Linked DNA regions of Homo sapiens: region 2 is linked to region 1. Evidence: promoter capture Hi-C in 16 types of primary human blood cells and fetal thymus (Javierre and others, 2016). All regions are on one chromosome and are shown on one strand. The core of a region is centred on a gene start or on the middle of the fragment in contact, and the rest is flanking DNA. Distances in the headings are between cores, read along the strand shown. Region 1 holds the start of SMCP (sperm mitochondria associated cysteine rich protein). Region 2 holds the start of LCE6A (late cornified envelope 6A).

Evidence for each region. The method cuts DNA at HindIII sites, captures the fragments that hold promoters and counts their contacts. A CHiCAGO score of 5 or more calls a contact.
Region 2: a contact is called between the fragment with the promoter of LCE6A here and the fragment with the promoter of SMCP in region 1, in 2 of 17 cell types (total CD8 T cells and total CD4 T cells). The highest score is 5.5, in total CD8 T cells.

The regions. Positions count from the first base shown.
Region 1 is chr1:152,873,442-152,880,824 of GRCh38, forward strand. SMCP (sperm mitochondria associated cysteine rich protein) reads left to right here and starts at 4,881. Exons shown (of 2, transcript NM_030663.3): 1 at 4,881-5,005. RefSeq lists enhancers at 6,797-6,876, 7,007-7,066. The HindIII fragment of the contact is 18,030 bases long and covers 1-7,383 here.
Region 2 is chr1:152,839,745-152,847,127 of GRCh38, forward strand. LCE6A (late cornified envelope 6A) reads left to right here and starts at 3,112. Exons shown (of 2, transcript NM_001128600.2): 1 at 3,112-3,267; 2 at 3,756-4,239. The coding sequence starts at 3,777. The coding sequence ends at 4,019. The HindIII fragment of the contact is 3,660 bases long and covers 868-4,527 here.

The DNA.
Region 1 (7,383 bases), core at 3,631-6,130:
GTAAGTTATGTCATCAGGCAGTTCCCAGAAAATGAATGTTGTGGTTCACTAAATGTAATAAAATATAGTTGAGCTTAGTTACTAAGAGCAACTCAAAACTACTTTGAGATCCCATTTTTAACCTACCAGATGGGCCAAGAACAATTAGTTTAAAAATACATCATTTTGATGAGTTTGTGGGGAAAAAAATGCAGTCTTATACATTGTAGGGAGTGAAATAAATCAGTGAAACTCATATGGAAGAAACTGGAAATACTGATCAAATTACAAAAGTATTTAGCCTCTGAGTCAGCAATTGCACTTAAATAAATATATTCTATCTCCTGAGGAATGATGTATAAATAATGTGTTCACTGCAGCATTGTTTGCAAGAGCCAAAATTGGGAACTGCTATATATACATAGGTTATTATCCAGACTGGGAAACAAAGAGAGAAAGTCTTAATGCACTGAAGTGGAATGCTCTCCAACAGATGCTGTTGTGAAAAAAGCAATGAGCAAAATGATGTGGAGTTACTCTTATTTCATTAAAAGAAGAAAAAATATACATGTTTGTGTGGGGTTTTTTGTGCATAAAATAACCCTGAAAGGATATTTCAGAAATTGATCTCTGTGAACTGAAGTAATTGGAGTTTCAAGTTGGGGATTTCACTGTGTATCCTTTGTAACTTCTGATTTTAGGCCCAAGTGAATGTGTGATAATGATCACTATTAATAATATTAAAGGAGATGGGCCATGCTCCGTGGTGCATGCCTATAATCCCAGCAGTTTGGGAAGCTGAGGCAGGAGGATCTCTTGAGCTCAGAAGTTCAAGACCAGCCTGGGCAATGTGGCAAAATCCCATCTCTACAAAAGATACAAAAATTAGCCAGGTGTAGTGGCACGCACCTGTAGTCCCAGCTACTTGGGAGACTGAGGTGGAAGGATCACTTGAGCCCAGGAGGTCAAGGCTGCAGTGAGGCAAGATCACACCACTGCACTACAACCTGGGCAACAGGGTGAGACCCTGTCTCAAAAAAAAAAAAAAGGACAAAAAAAATTGCATTAAAGGAGACCTGCAGGAAGCAGAGCCTCAAATGCTGGAACCCAGGAAGACAGCACCATAAGGACTCGCTCCGCTCCGTTACTGGATGTAATCACATCATTACATTAGCAAATTCCTGCAAACTGGCCTCAACTTTTCTCACCATCAATTAACATAGCCCATGCAGCAAAGAAAGATGGTAATAGTCTTCCCCACTTTTGATAACAGAGGCAGAAAAACATAAGGAGGTAGGAGTGTGGCTGCCGCGGGACACATTCTGCTAGTTTGGATGATGCATTGAAAACAGCCTTAAAAAATGAGTTCCCCAATTTGGACAAGCAAGTTGGGAGTTATTGGCAGAAAAAGTTTGATTTAAGAAAAAAAGACCAACAATCACCATTCATGCATTTAACTAATATTTTTGAGTATTTACTATGTATTAGGAACTATTCTGACTGAGAGCCTGAGATATATCAGTAAACAACATTTGCCTTTTTGGCAATGACATTCTAATGAGAGAAGACAATACATAAAACTATAATAAATAAAAATTAGCTCATTTTAGTGCTATGAGATACTGGTCTTTATATTATACTTATATTATATTGTATGTGAAAAGTACTACCAAAGGAAAACAAAATAGGACTGTGTAAAGGTGACTGGAGTGAGGGCAAGTGTGGAAGATTGTCATTTTAATTAGGAAAATCAGTGTGTACCTCACCGAGAAATTGATATTTAAGCAAAGACTTGAAATACAAACAAAAGGCCCTTAGTGGCATGCTTGTGCATTCGTATGCATGTACACATGTGCACACACCTGGCCTGCTGCAGGAACAGCAAGGAGGTGAGTGTGGCTGCAGCAGAGCAAGTGACAGGAAGAACAGTAGGAGATGAGGTCCAAGGTGTGTGTGGAGTTGGGGGTCAATAATGCAGGGCCTTGTGGGCTATTGTGAGGACTTCAATTTACCCAGCAAGGCATGGAAAGCCACTTCAGGTTTTTGAGCAGGAGAATTACATGATATGACTTATGTTTTAAAGTCCACCCCAACTGCTCTGCTGAAAACAGACAATAGAGGACCAAGAATAGAGCAGAGATACCAGTTAAAAGCTGATTAGAAAAGTCAGCAAGAAATCATGGTGTCTCAGAGTAGGTTGGCCACAGTTACAGATGGATTCATTTTGAAGTTAACAGAATTTACTGATATTAACTGAGTGTGAGTTATACAAGACAGAAGCCAAGGAGGACTCAAAAGTCTTTAGCTTGAGCAAATGGAAGAATAGAGTTAGCATCTTCTGGGCTGAGATGTCTAGGGGTAGAGGATGTTTTCAGGAAAATATCAATAGCTCAGTTGTGAGCACATTAAATATGAGATGTCTATTAGATATCCATGTGAGAATACTAAATAAATAAGCAGTTGAATATGAAAGTCTGAAGTTCCGGAGAGATTTCTCAGCTGTTATTAACAAAGTAGACACCATCATCAATGACATATAGATGGCCTTCATGGTCAGGAGACTGAATGTTCTAACCAAGAAAATGAGTATTGATGGAGAAGAAAAGAGAACCAAGGACTCCAGCAGGAAGTAGCCAGGCAGAAGAACAGGAACACAAAGAGTTCCAAGTTAATGTACTGGCTAAATTATTCTTCCATGTATTTATTTACTAAATGTGGATTTAGTACCTAGGATGTTCCATACATTGTGTTGGAAATAGAATTTAAATGGTGAGCAGAAAGTATATCTATCCTCACCTTCTAGATAGCCTTCATTAGCTTAATTTTAACAAACTAATATGCATCATGGTTAAAAATTCAAATAGTTTGTGTGTATTTGATTCTTCTAGGAAAATATTTATGTATACTAACATATATGTTTATCTTATTTTGTATATATCTCCGTATATACATTCTTTTTATAAGAAAAGGAATATACTAACATATTGTTTACTGGATTGCTTTCTTTGATTACATAGTTGGGAGAATTTTTCATAGCATCATCTACAACTGGACTCTGTTTTTATTAGCTATATACTATCCTATTACATGATTGTAAAATGAAATCTCATTAACAGAATATGAAAATACCTGTTTCTCAACATATTCATTAACAACTAATGTGATCAAAATTTCATATTTGTTGCCAGACTGTCATAGAAAAGCCAGTGTCTCATTGATCTTCTGGTTTGCATTCCTTTAGTTATGAATAAGCATTTCTTCATAGATTTGTTGGCCATTTCCACCTCTCTCTCTCACTCTACCTCTCTCTCCCTCTCCGTACTCTTCCTAGAAAGAACTTAATTCTTATAGATTAAGGCTTTGGTCCCAACTACAATGTTAGAGACTTTGGGAGATGTGAATAAGAGTAGACATTTTACTGAGAATAAATTTTAGAGATAACTATAAGCATGAAGACCTGAAGAAGACAAGTAAAAGAGAAATACTTGAATAGGCTATTATAGAATGAAAAGCACAATTCACATACTTCCCAAGAGTGCTACCCTTTGGCCGAGGTGGTTCTGTCCTGGACTTCAGACTTTAAAGAGTCCTTCTCTGGCTCTCCTCCAGCCATGACCCACCCCCATAGGATGATTCAATAGGTCCAGGGTACAGGCCCAGAGCTGCTGTCTCTCTCACTCCAGCTATCCAGGACCCCAGAAATCTCTGTCAACTGGCCCTGAGATCACCTTTATGTGTCTATCCTCTTGAAGACTCAAACAGCCAATACTGTGCTCACTTCTAGGTCTCAATGACCAAGAGAGGGGCAGTTTGAGAGATCCATGTATGAAAAGAACATGGACGGTATGGACTAGGATATTTACACTCATGCACGCCCGAGGTCCCTCGTGACACAAGATGAAGCCAGGGAGTAGGAAGAGAACCAGGGGTGAACCACAGGGGTCAGAAGCCTCTGTTTGTGCTCTTGCCTGGTGTCCTACAAATGTTTATGGCAGGCATGCTTCCCAGAAGAACAGAATTTCCTAGTCACTGTCCTCAAAGAGGCCATGCTACAGGAAGAAAAGGAAAGAGTAAACATAATGAAATGCTTCTCTCTTATCATTATTTTAGTCAATTCACTATTCAATTGATTCAGTTTCAGAATCTTTTATGTGCCAATTGCTCAGCCAGACACTGGGAATATCAAAGTGAATAAAATAGGGTCCTGGCCCCTAAGGCATCCCAGTTTCTCCCCTGTTTAAAACCTTTCAGTGGTTCCCATTGTCCTCAGGATAAAGTCCAAACTCTTTTTCTTATGGCATAAAGGTCCTCACCAACACAGCCTTACCTACCTAGGTAGGTGAATCTCCCCCTTCTCCTTACTCCCCACTCTGCTCCAGCCACACTGAGCTTTTCCACCAAATAGCCTATACTTTCACATTTCTGGATCTGAAAATGTCCTCCCAGACACACCCCTATGTCCAACTTCCTATTTCCAATTTCCAAGTCTCAGCTTAAATATCACTCCCTCCAGGAAGCATATCTGACCCCCAAACCTGACCCCTGTGCTTATCCTACCATCATTATTATCACATGGTATTGTTGGCTATTGACTTGCCTCCATATTGAATTAGATCTTTGAGAATGGGAACTACATCCCATTGAGCTACACTTCACTTTTTAGGACAGAGCCTGGTAGATAGGAGACAATCAATACAGATTTGTGTTTTAGGTTATTGCATGCTTATGGGTTAGCTAGGGAGCTTTCTTTTTATCTTTCAGGAAAGAAACCAAAGAGACAGACTCTCCAGCAGGCAGGGGGCGCCAGTGAGTGAGCTAGGCATAGAGTCTTGTGGAGAGAATTATGGTGTCATAGAGGCTTAGAATCTTGGCATTAGCAGGGAAGGGAACCCATCTGGTTCAGAAGGCTTTGGCTTCTGATAGTCATGGACTCACTAGGCTGCTGAGGAAGATCAATAATACCTACTGGAATCAGTCATGAGAAGTCAAGCATGGAAATTGTGAATTGTGTGTGTGGCCAGACCAGGTAACACAGAGAAACATTGTCTTTTGGGTCCTCTCTCCATGGCTTTTTCATGTGTTCATTAGTTCATTACGTATTTACCTACTGAGACCCATGCAATGCCATTCAGTGTGTTGGATGAGAGGATTCCAGGATTCATCCTATCTTTCAGGAAAAAGCTCCTGCTTCTATTTAAGAGGAAGACATGGGAGCCACTGGGGGTGGGGATAGTGAGAATGCCTGTGTTTATGGAACTAACAGACCACAAAAGTGAGACAATTGGGAAAATAATAACCACTATAAAAATGTAATGGGAAGTACAGGGGATCCAAGAAAGCCTTTCAGGGAGATGGAGGTTTTGGGTTAAGGAAGTTTTCCTCGAGGAGTGATGTGTAAGCAGAGACTTCAGGTTTGAACGATATTCAGTGAGCATGTGGGGACAGAGACCCAGGAAGGGTGGTTTAAGCTGGGAAAGAGCACATTCAAAGACCTGGAAAGAGGTGAGAAAATTCAGCAGGTGTCTGCTCTGAGCCAGTCTGGTGCCTGAGGGAACAGTGTTTGGACATGAGGCTGGGCCTGTGGGCAGAGGGAGAAGGTGCCTTGCCAGAGCCCTCCTGGTGGTTTGGGCTCTGTATCAATCCTCTCTGAATAGAGCAATAAGAGCTAGGAAGATGGCCCTGGCCTTGCACCACAAGTGTTTGACATGATTAGGCAGATTTCCTGAGGCAGGCTGTGCACAGCATGGTTGGGAAGGAAGGGAAATGGAGCTTGGAGAGAATATTTATTTATTTGTTTGTTTCTTTTTATTTATTTATTGAGATGGAGTCTCACTCTGTCACCCAGGCTGGAGTGCAGTGGTGAGGTCTCGGCTCACTGTAACTTCTACCTCCCGGATTCAAGTGATTCTCCTGCCTCAGCTTCCCAAGTAGCTGGTATTACAGGTGCACGCCACCACACCCAGCTAATTTTTGTATTTTCAGTAGAGATGGAGTTTTGCCATGTTGGCCAGGCTGGTCTCAAACTCCTGACCTCAAGTGATTCACCCGTCCCAGCCTCCCAAAGCGCTGGGACAACAGGTGTGAGCCATTGTGCCCGGCCAAGGAGAGAATCTTAAGAAGAAACTCTTGCAGGAGGCAGAGGGGTCCAGGAGGCAGGTTTGTTGGACAGGAGCCAGGGTTCTGAAAGTGGAGGATATAGATACTATTCACCAGGCAGAAGGAAGACAGTGGAGACAGCACTGGCTCAGAGGGGCAGGACCTGCATCCATGGGGGTGAGGTTGCAGAAGGACTTGATGTTGCCCTCCCTATGCTACAGTCAACAAGACTGGTTTCCAACCTGCTGTCCTTCTCTGATATTGCACAACCTCCACATTCAGGACCTATTCCCAGGATCTCACTATGGGGGACATGCTTGGAGTGGGGACATTGGTGGGACTGGTGAGGCAAGCCCCTGGACCTGGGCTCCAGGTGCCTCTGATGCCTCTGCACCTCTGATCACTGGAATGAGAATTGCTTCTGTAGAAACAGCTCAGTCTGGACTTGTAAAGATGGACACTAACAAACTGGACTTCCAAGTGGTGATGAGACTCTGCACTTTGGTCAATTCAGGGCACTGACCTTCAGAGTAGAGAAAGGTAAACCAGAGACAAAAGACAGAAAGGTAGAGACAGAATGAAGACCAGAGAATGATAGAGAGGCAGAGAGGAAAAAAAAATAGCAAAAGGCAAAAATAAACACAGAGAGGAACAACAGAAAATAAAAACAGAAGGGGCTCACTCCTCCCTCGTCCCTCTCAAAACCTAGTCTTAGGTCTGACCTCTAAGGGAGCAGATTCAAACAACAAGGAGATACGGACAGATACTGGGCTCCCTGCATACCCCGGCACACCCAAATTCACCACTGTACAGCTGCAGGGGCACCCAAGTGTGTGCTTGTGTGTGCGTGTGGACACACACACACACTTCCTGTCAAACAGCTTTGAACACTGCAAAGGTGGTAGAGAACATGGCCCTGTACTCTCTCACCTCTTCCCTATTTTTATACTGGTCTGTCTCCGTCTTATTTCCATTTTTGGTGTGCCTCTCCATTGCTCACCTCTCTCCTTCCTGTTCTCTCTCGGGCAAGTCAAGGCATCGCAGGGCCTGTATCTGCCACCTCAGCCTCTTTGCAGCTTCCTCTGACCTAGAAGGAGCAATAGGGTGACTTGTCCCCACCCCCATCCTTTAGGAGTCTTTGCTCTAGTGTCTTCCTCTTAAATGGAAGCAGGGGCCTTTTCCTGAAAGATAGGATGAATCCAGGAATAACTGGCAGAGATAGAGTCATGACTGAATTAAAGCCAACATCCTAACCCAAGTCACTCTCCCCTTTTTAGGTGGGAACTGCCCTTGACCCAGTTCAGGCTG
Region 2 (7,383 bases), core at 1,862-4,361, 35 kb before region 1:
CAAGAAGTAAGACACAAAGAAAGACAAAAAGAAAAAGAAAAAGAAAGAAAAGAAAAAAGAAAGGAAGAAAGAAAGAAAGGAAAGGAAAGAAAGAAAGAAAGAAAAAAGAAGGAAGGAAGAAAGAAAAAAAGAGAGGAAGAAGGAAGGCAGGCAGGCTGAGGAAATAAGAGGAAGACAAAGAGATAGAGTGGAAAAGGGAGGAAGAAAGAGAGGTAGAGACAGACGGACATCAGACAGGATAAAAGCCAGTTCACCATACAATAAATCCATCCATTCAGCAGAGGAGGAGACATAATGAAAGGAAGTTCCAGAAGTTAAGCATAAAGCGATGGGATAGGTTCGAGTATACACAGGGACTTGAATGCTGGCTAAAGGAATTTAGATTTATCCGGAAGACATCAGAGTGTTCTGAATGAACACTTAACAGTCAGGGCAATTATTCATTAAAAACATAAAGCAAAATAAAAGAGATTTTAAAAATATATTTGAGGAGTTACTTCAGGAATAGTTAAATGATTTGAGATATCAGAAAGAAATTGACCAAAGAGAAACCCAGTCATGGGAAGCCAAGCAACTTCATTTGAGGCTGGGGACCTAGAGATATCTCTTGCTCAGAGAAACAGTCTCCTGAATAGAGACCAGGAATGAGATGGGATTATTCTCAGAGATGGGCTCCTGTCTTCAGACCAGGTGGGGACTCTGATAATGGTGGGAGCTACATACTTGAGACACTACCTTTCTAATTTGGTACATTTAAGAGGACTAGTTGTATTCTCAAGCTACAACTACAGTTTGCCTATTTGCCGATTTTTCACTTACAAGCTTGTGTTACCTATTAATTTGTCTGTATTCCCTCTGGAGAGTGAAAGCTTTGAAACATAATATAGACATCTTATTCTTTCTTGTATCCAGTACATAGTTGGGACTTAATAAATATCAAATCACATAATTATAGACACAATCTGAACCAGGAAGAGAAGTGGAGTGGGATTAGAATAAGAACATTACATTTCTGTGGTCCTGATTTAAAACTGGCTGGACTTTTAAGTTTATCTGGAAGACAGTGCAGCTCAGGGGCCTCAAACAGGCTCACTTAATGAGCTAGGCAAATCTAGATGCTGGACACACTCCATCCTATATGTGATGAAATTCACTGTACTGAAAAGGAGGGGGCTAAGAGATTTCTGTGGGCAATTTATTATGGGAGGTGGTCTGGGAGAGATATAGAAGGGGCAGGAAGTGTAGTTTGCCTAGGGCAGAGCCTCCAGAAAGAACCCTCAGCCCTAGGCAGAGACAGTAAGGGTTGGGTACTTGCTAGTTAACTTCAAAAAAATGCATTTGTGATGTGTGAGGTCTCTGAAGCATGTGTTTAAGTGGTGCAGGTCTTGGGTGGGGAAAAGGAGCAACTGGTGCATTGAGACCAGTGTTACTTTGCCTTCCTGCTAATGCTTAGTGCAAGGGAAGCACTTCTGAGGCACCATCAGAGTTATTTCTGGTGTCTGAGGGAAGAAAAGAGGAGAAAGAGAAGGAGAGAGAAAAGGGAAAAGGAAGTAAAGGAAGATGGGGTCTATCCCTGAGGCTGTCTAAATCAGGCACTCTCTCTCCAGGGCTCTGCTCTAACAGAGTGAGCGAGGTTTCATACCATTCTTCCACCTGCTGTTTCACTCACAAAGATCTTCTCTTCCTCCATCCAAACTGCATCTCAAAGTTTTCCCAGATGAAGCAATTGAAACCTGATGATCCTGCCCTGCTGGATTTTGGGATCCAATAGCTGCTCCTTTTCTGGCCTTGTCCTATTTTCCACCCTGGTCTTCATACCCTCTCCCATACCCCAACCCTACTCACCTTTGTCCTATACATGATTTGAAGGCCTTTGAGGACTGCCCCTACAGTCAGAATGTTCCTTGTAATTGCTCATCTTTTTATTTACCCAACTGTTTCCTGAATACCTACTGTGTGTCAGGCATCAGAAATACAGAGGCAGGTGAGGCACACTCTTGAGCAGCAGGGAGTTTCATCAGTGCCTTTTAACTTAGCTGGGCACACCAGGAGCGATTCTGAGATGGAAGCATCCAGAGGTGAGGGACTGTGTTTAGAGAATGTTCCCAATTTAAGCACTGCCAAAACATGATTATCTCAATTTTCATGAAAGCTAAAGAAGAACTTTTCACTCTGTGGAAGGCTTTTCCACAATGTCCCTTGATAATTCCAAGAACAGCTCCCCTTTTGCATTTAAGAGACAGCAGGTGTGTGAAGGTTTTGCTTCCCACCCTCTGCTCAGCCTATTGTGTAAGGTGAGGTCCACCCACAGAGTTCCCTGTAGTATTTATGAAAGGGTGTTCACAAATGCCTTAGGGGAGAATGATGGAAACAAGAAGTCAAGGTCTCGTCCACAAAACAAAATGAGTTGGGCTTTATTTTATTCCTGTTTTTTTCTCCTGAAACACAAAGTCTTTTCTAATGGCACATAGACTGTTTCATTCAACAAATACTAATGAGTATTTTCTTTGTGTCAGGAACAACATCAGGCTCTAGGAATGCAGAAGTGATAAAGGCACTGTCATCAAATAACAGTTTAATAGGTGAGATAGGATATGTATCTTGGTCACACGACCCAAAGCAATAGTAAAGGCTGTGACATGTATCTATAAAGGTCAGAGGATGAAGGACTCATGTGTGGCTAGAGCAATGGGCCAATCTCCACAGAGGTGATGACACGGAATGGGATGCTGACAGTCATGGATGATGGGTGGGGAGTAGACAAGGAAGGTCTTCCTCAGACCCTGGGTGATGTCGAACCTGATTTTTCCCTCCAATCCTACATAGAATTCAACAGCAGCTGCAACCCGCCCAGCCTCCCAAGGACATCATCCAGATTAGCCAGTGTACCCACTTCTGCGTAGGCCAATCTGAAGGCCCCAGCCTTCTGCTCACTCACGCACCTGCAGATGCCTTTGAACCACATCCCAGCTACATGTAGCTGAGGAATCTAGCACTGGGAATTGTGAAATACCCAGATCAATCATCCACTCCATGGCTCTCCTCCAATGACATGTGGCCTGGAGGCTTCAACTGGAGGATATATAAAAGAGCCTCTTACTTCCTGGCAACACAAGGCCTCCAGACTCCTCCTGGGATAACTTGTCCACACATCTTCCACTAGGGTAAGGCTACTTCTGGCTGAGGAGACACTTGGATGTAGCTCAAGTGCTGCTTAGGCAGTCCTGATCTCTCCTCTCGTCTCTTCCCAGGGAGCTGAAAAGCCAGGTAGGAGATGCTTGGGGTAGAAAGAAGGGAAGAGAAGTGGATCCCTGCAAAAGAAAGACCCCAAATAATCTAACATGGGAGAAAGCCATAGAAGTTAGAGGGCCAGAAAAGCAGAGATGGGACAGTCAGACTTAGGAGTCTGGGGACAGAATAAGACAGAGTAAAGAAAGAGCAGAGACTTGGCTCTCCTTTGCACTTAACCAGGTGGACATTGGGCTGGGAAAAGTAAACTGTCAGCTCAACTAAGTACAATTTGTCTTTTTTTTTTTTTAAGGAAGCATATATCATTAACATGGTTATTAGTAAGTGAGTCCCCTGGGAAGATTTACTCCCAAATATTTAGTCCTTTCAAGTCCGTTTTTCTCCTCCTGAGATGGAGTTCAGTGGGTTGTAAATGCTGGACTTCATTTTTGACAGCTCCAGTTTGTGGAGGAGAGAAACAGAAGCCCAAGCTGCCTGGGTCCCTGATATAACTATTTTTCTTCCAGATTCGACCTGGTAGCCAAGCAATGTCACAGCAGAAGCAGCAATCTTGGAAGCCTCCAAATGTTCCCAAATGCTCCCCTCCCCAAAGATCAAACCCCTGCCTAGCTCCCTACTCGACTCCTTGTGGTGCTCCCCATTCAGAAGGTTGTCATTCCAGTTCCCAAAGGCCTGAGGTTCAGAAGCCTAGGAGGGCTCGTCAAAAGCTGCGCTGCCTAAGTAGGGGCACAACCTACCACTGCAAAGAGGAAGAGTGTGAAGGCGACTGAGCCCAGAAGAGTTGAGGCACAGGTGCAGTTACTCTCTCCCTGCCCCACCTTTGGGTACTAATTCCCCCTTGGAAAGCCAGGCCCTCAACCTCTCATTTGGACTGAGAAACACTTCCTGATCCCCAGCTCTAGAGAAGCGAGAACTAGGCTGAGCCACGCTGCTACTGCTCTCTTCCATTCACCCCTTCAGCTCAGCAACAATAAAGCTGCTTTACTTGGAGCCCTGACTTCTGTGAGTTCTTGAGACCCCTGCTCAGATGTACTGAGACCCCCGCTTCAACCCAAGTGCATGGTGCTTCTCCTCCTTCCTCTTAAGACAGCTGATAGTATTTTTAAGAAGCAGATGTTCTGGGATTTATGTCCCAGTTTCCAGCAGCCTCACAGCCATCAACCCATGTCATTGCATGATTCTAGCACCAAAGACTACAATAAACATATGTTGAGCACCTACTGTGTACTGGCCTCTGTGTTTACAGATGTAAGTGGGAAATTTGTCCCTGCTCTAGAAAGCTTATAATCCAGTAGGAGATGCAATGGACACTTCAGATAGAAACAAGTGGATTAGTAAATATCATTTTAAGCTGATTAATTTACTCATTTTTATCTCTCATTTGTGTTCAAAAGAACTTAAAGCAGAAATTTAAAAAGTACCTTAGGTCAAAGACAGCAGAGAGAGGAGAACCATTCTGATGGTGTGGATCAAATGTGGTTTCCTAGGCCTTGGAAGGAAAGAGAGTATCCCACTTGGGAGTGGGGAGAAGAGGCTCCCAGACCTCTAAAGATAGCAGACTTTGGTGCTAGGAGGTGCAGTGAAGAGGAAAGTTCATCCAGGTGGAAGATCCAGCATAAACAAATGCATAACAAGGGTGGTACTTGCCAATGGTGTGTATTTCAATTTGGCTGGAGTGCCAGGTGTGAGATGAGAGATATGACACAGTTCATAACCCCAAGTCTTCATGATAATTCAAACCAGCTGAGTTTACTGAGCTTTAGGTATCAAACACCAGCTACCAAAAGATCATACCTCTGGGAAAAGTCTGGGCCCAAACCCCAAGTCTAGTAGTCTGAGATGAGGGAAGCATGACATAAATTACACAGACTTGAAGGGGACTTGAAGCTCAACTATGATGCATATAAATATAAGTTTATGTAAATAATTTTGTTGATCTGCATTTTTGGCAAGACATTAAAAGCATTACTTTTTTTAACCAAATATCCAACTCAATAGATTGTATTGACCAGGCTCAGAACAGAATTTCAACCTGTAATATCCAGTATATGGGATTCTCATTTTCAGAGCTTAGTAATTCTCCTCATTGCTGGGACATGATGTCACCTTTGTGATGACACACATCTATATGCAGATATGTATCATGGTTATATATAATTATAATTTCATATGCATGATTTTTCTCATTAAACAAATGACACACACTTGTATAAAGATTTGTTAATGGGCATATGTAACTAACCTGCACAATGTGCACATGTACCCTAAAACTTAAAGTATAATAAAAAAAAAAAAAGAAAAAAAAAAGATTTGTTAATGGAGATAAGCTTAAGGAAGATGACTAAGATCAACCTAAAAATCCTATCACCTAAAAATAACCATGGCTAATCATTTCATAGATGTATTTGCAAACCTTTAAACATCACACAATGGGTTCATTACAGAATACTTTATAACCTACATTTTTTTTACTGTTAAGTAAATGGTAAAATTGAACAAGAGTCATTGTCAATACTCTTCCATGCTGGTAAATATTGATCAACACTATTTACACATGATATTCACAAACACATCATGGTCTGCATAACTAGGTCTCCAATACTGGGCATTTATGTTGTTTTTGCACTTGCTGTCAAGTGTAATTTAAAATAATCATTCCCATTGATAGTTACTCTTAATTTTCTTAGAATAAGTTTTTAGAATTGGAATAAATTAGCAAAACTATGAAGACTTTTTCAGACTCTTCAGCAAGACTGCATTTTGGGAGCAATAAAAATTACTCCACTTAAGAAATTAATTATGGTAGAGGGGATTTCTTTTGTTTGAGAGCAAAAGTGAATACAAAGTTAAAAGACTGCCCATGTTTATAGTGGAAAAAGTCCACTTTTTGAGAAGAGACACTTCCTAAAAAGCTTGAGAGGTGTCCACCTATTTGCCATCATAAAATCTATACTTTAAAGAAAGTTTAGATGCCTTCCTCTTTTGAGGAAAAAAGAGTGCTTTGTATTATATGAAGCAATATCTTATGAATATTGATATACCATTGTTTGAAATTTTGTGTCTATATTTGCATGAGAGATTTTTGGGAAGAATCCCATATTTCCCTAGGAAAAATACAAAATATCAATGTTGAGTTGATTGTGTAAAGCTCAATGTGTAAGAACATCTTTTTTTCTACTTTTTATTTCTGCTCTTTATTGAAGACAGGTATTTACCAAAGGAAAATTTTTTAAAAAGTTTTTACAGAAACTGTTTTTCTTTGACAGGAATATTACTTACTATTTTGGCCTACTCAGCTTTCTCTAGTCAGTACTTGAATTCCCTGTGCTAAGTGTTCAACCTATGTATTATTCTATAGATACACTGGTTAGTCTGTGTCAAATTGATTTCTAAATTACTACAATGAAAATAAACTAATGATTTGATTATTGTTTTTCTTTATAAAGGCTGTATTTGGCATCTTCACAATTCCTAAAATATGCCTGTACATCAGAAATGTCAATAGGAGTGACTTTTTTATATGGCTTTAGGATGGCTTCATTTTAATACTACATGTACATTGTATTTTGTTTTATAGTAATAAGTAATGAAAAATGCAGACTTTATATTTTACACAAAATGTCCTGTAAATCTATATATATGTTATGATTTATACATAAATATATATGTAGTTTTAAGCATTCTCACCACAAAAAAAGGTATGTGAGATAATGCATGTTAATTAGCTTGATTTACTCATTCCACAATGTACACATTATTTCAAAACAATATGTTGTACATGCTAAATATATACAGCACAAATTTTATTTGCCAGTTAAAATAAATAAATACATGTATTTTTTAAATGTCCTATATATAAAATTTTGTAACTTCATAGGAACAACAAAAGTAGGTAAATGGTACAATTCCTTTTATTTAGAATATATCTAACTTTATGCTTTTAACAAATGTTAAAAATCTTACATATATTTTACATCTTTTAATTCAGAAAACTTTATTTTGACAGAAAAACTTTATATATTTGATATTTAACATATTATTTTATCTAATTTTTAGAAAATGTTAAATGCTATATTGTTTGGACTAAATAAAGAACACATAAGTTAAAAGAAAAAAAGGTGCTAGGTGTTTAGA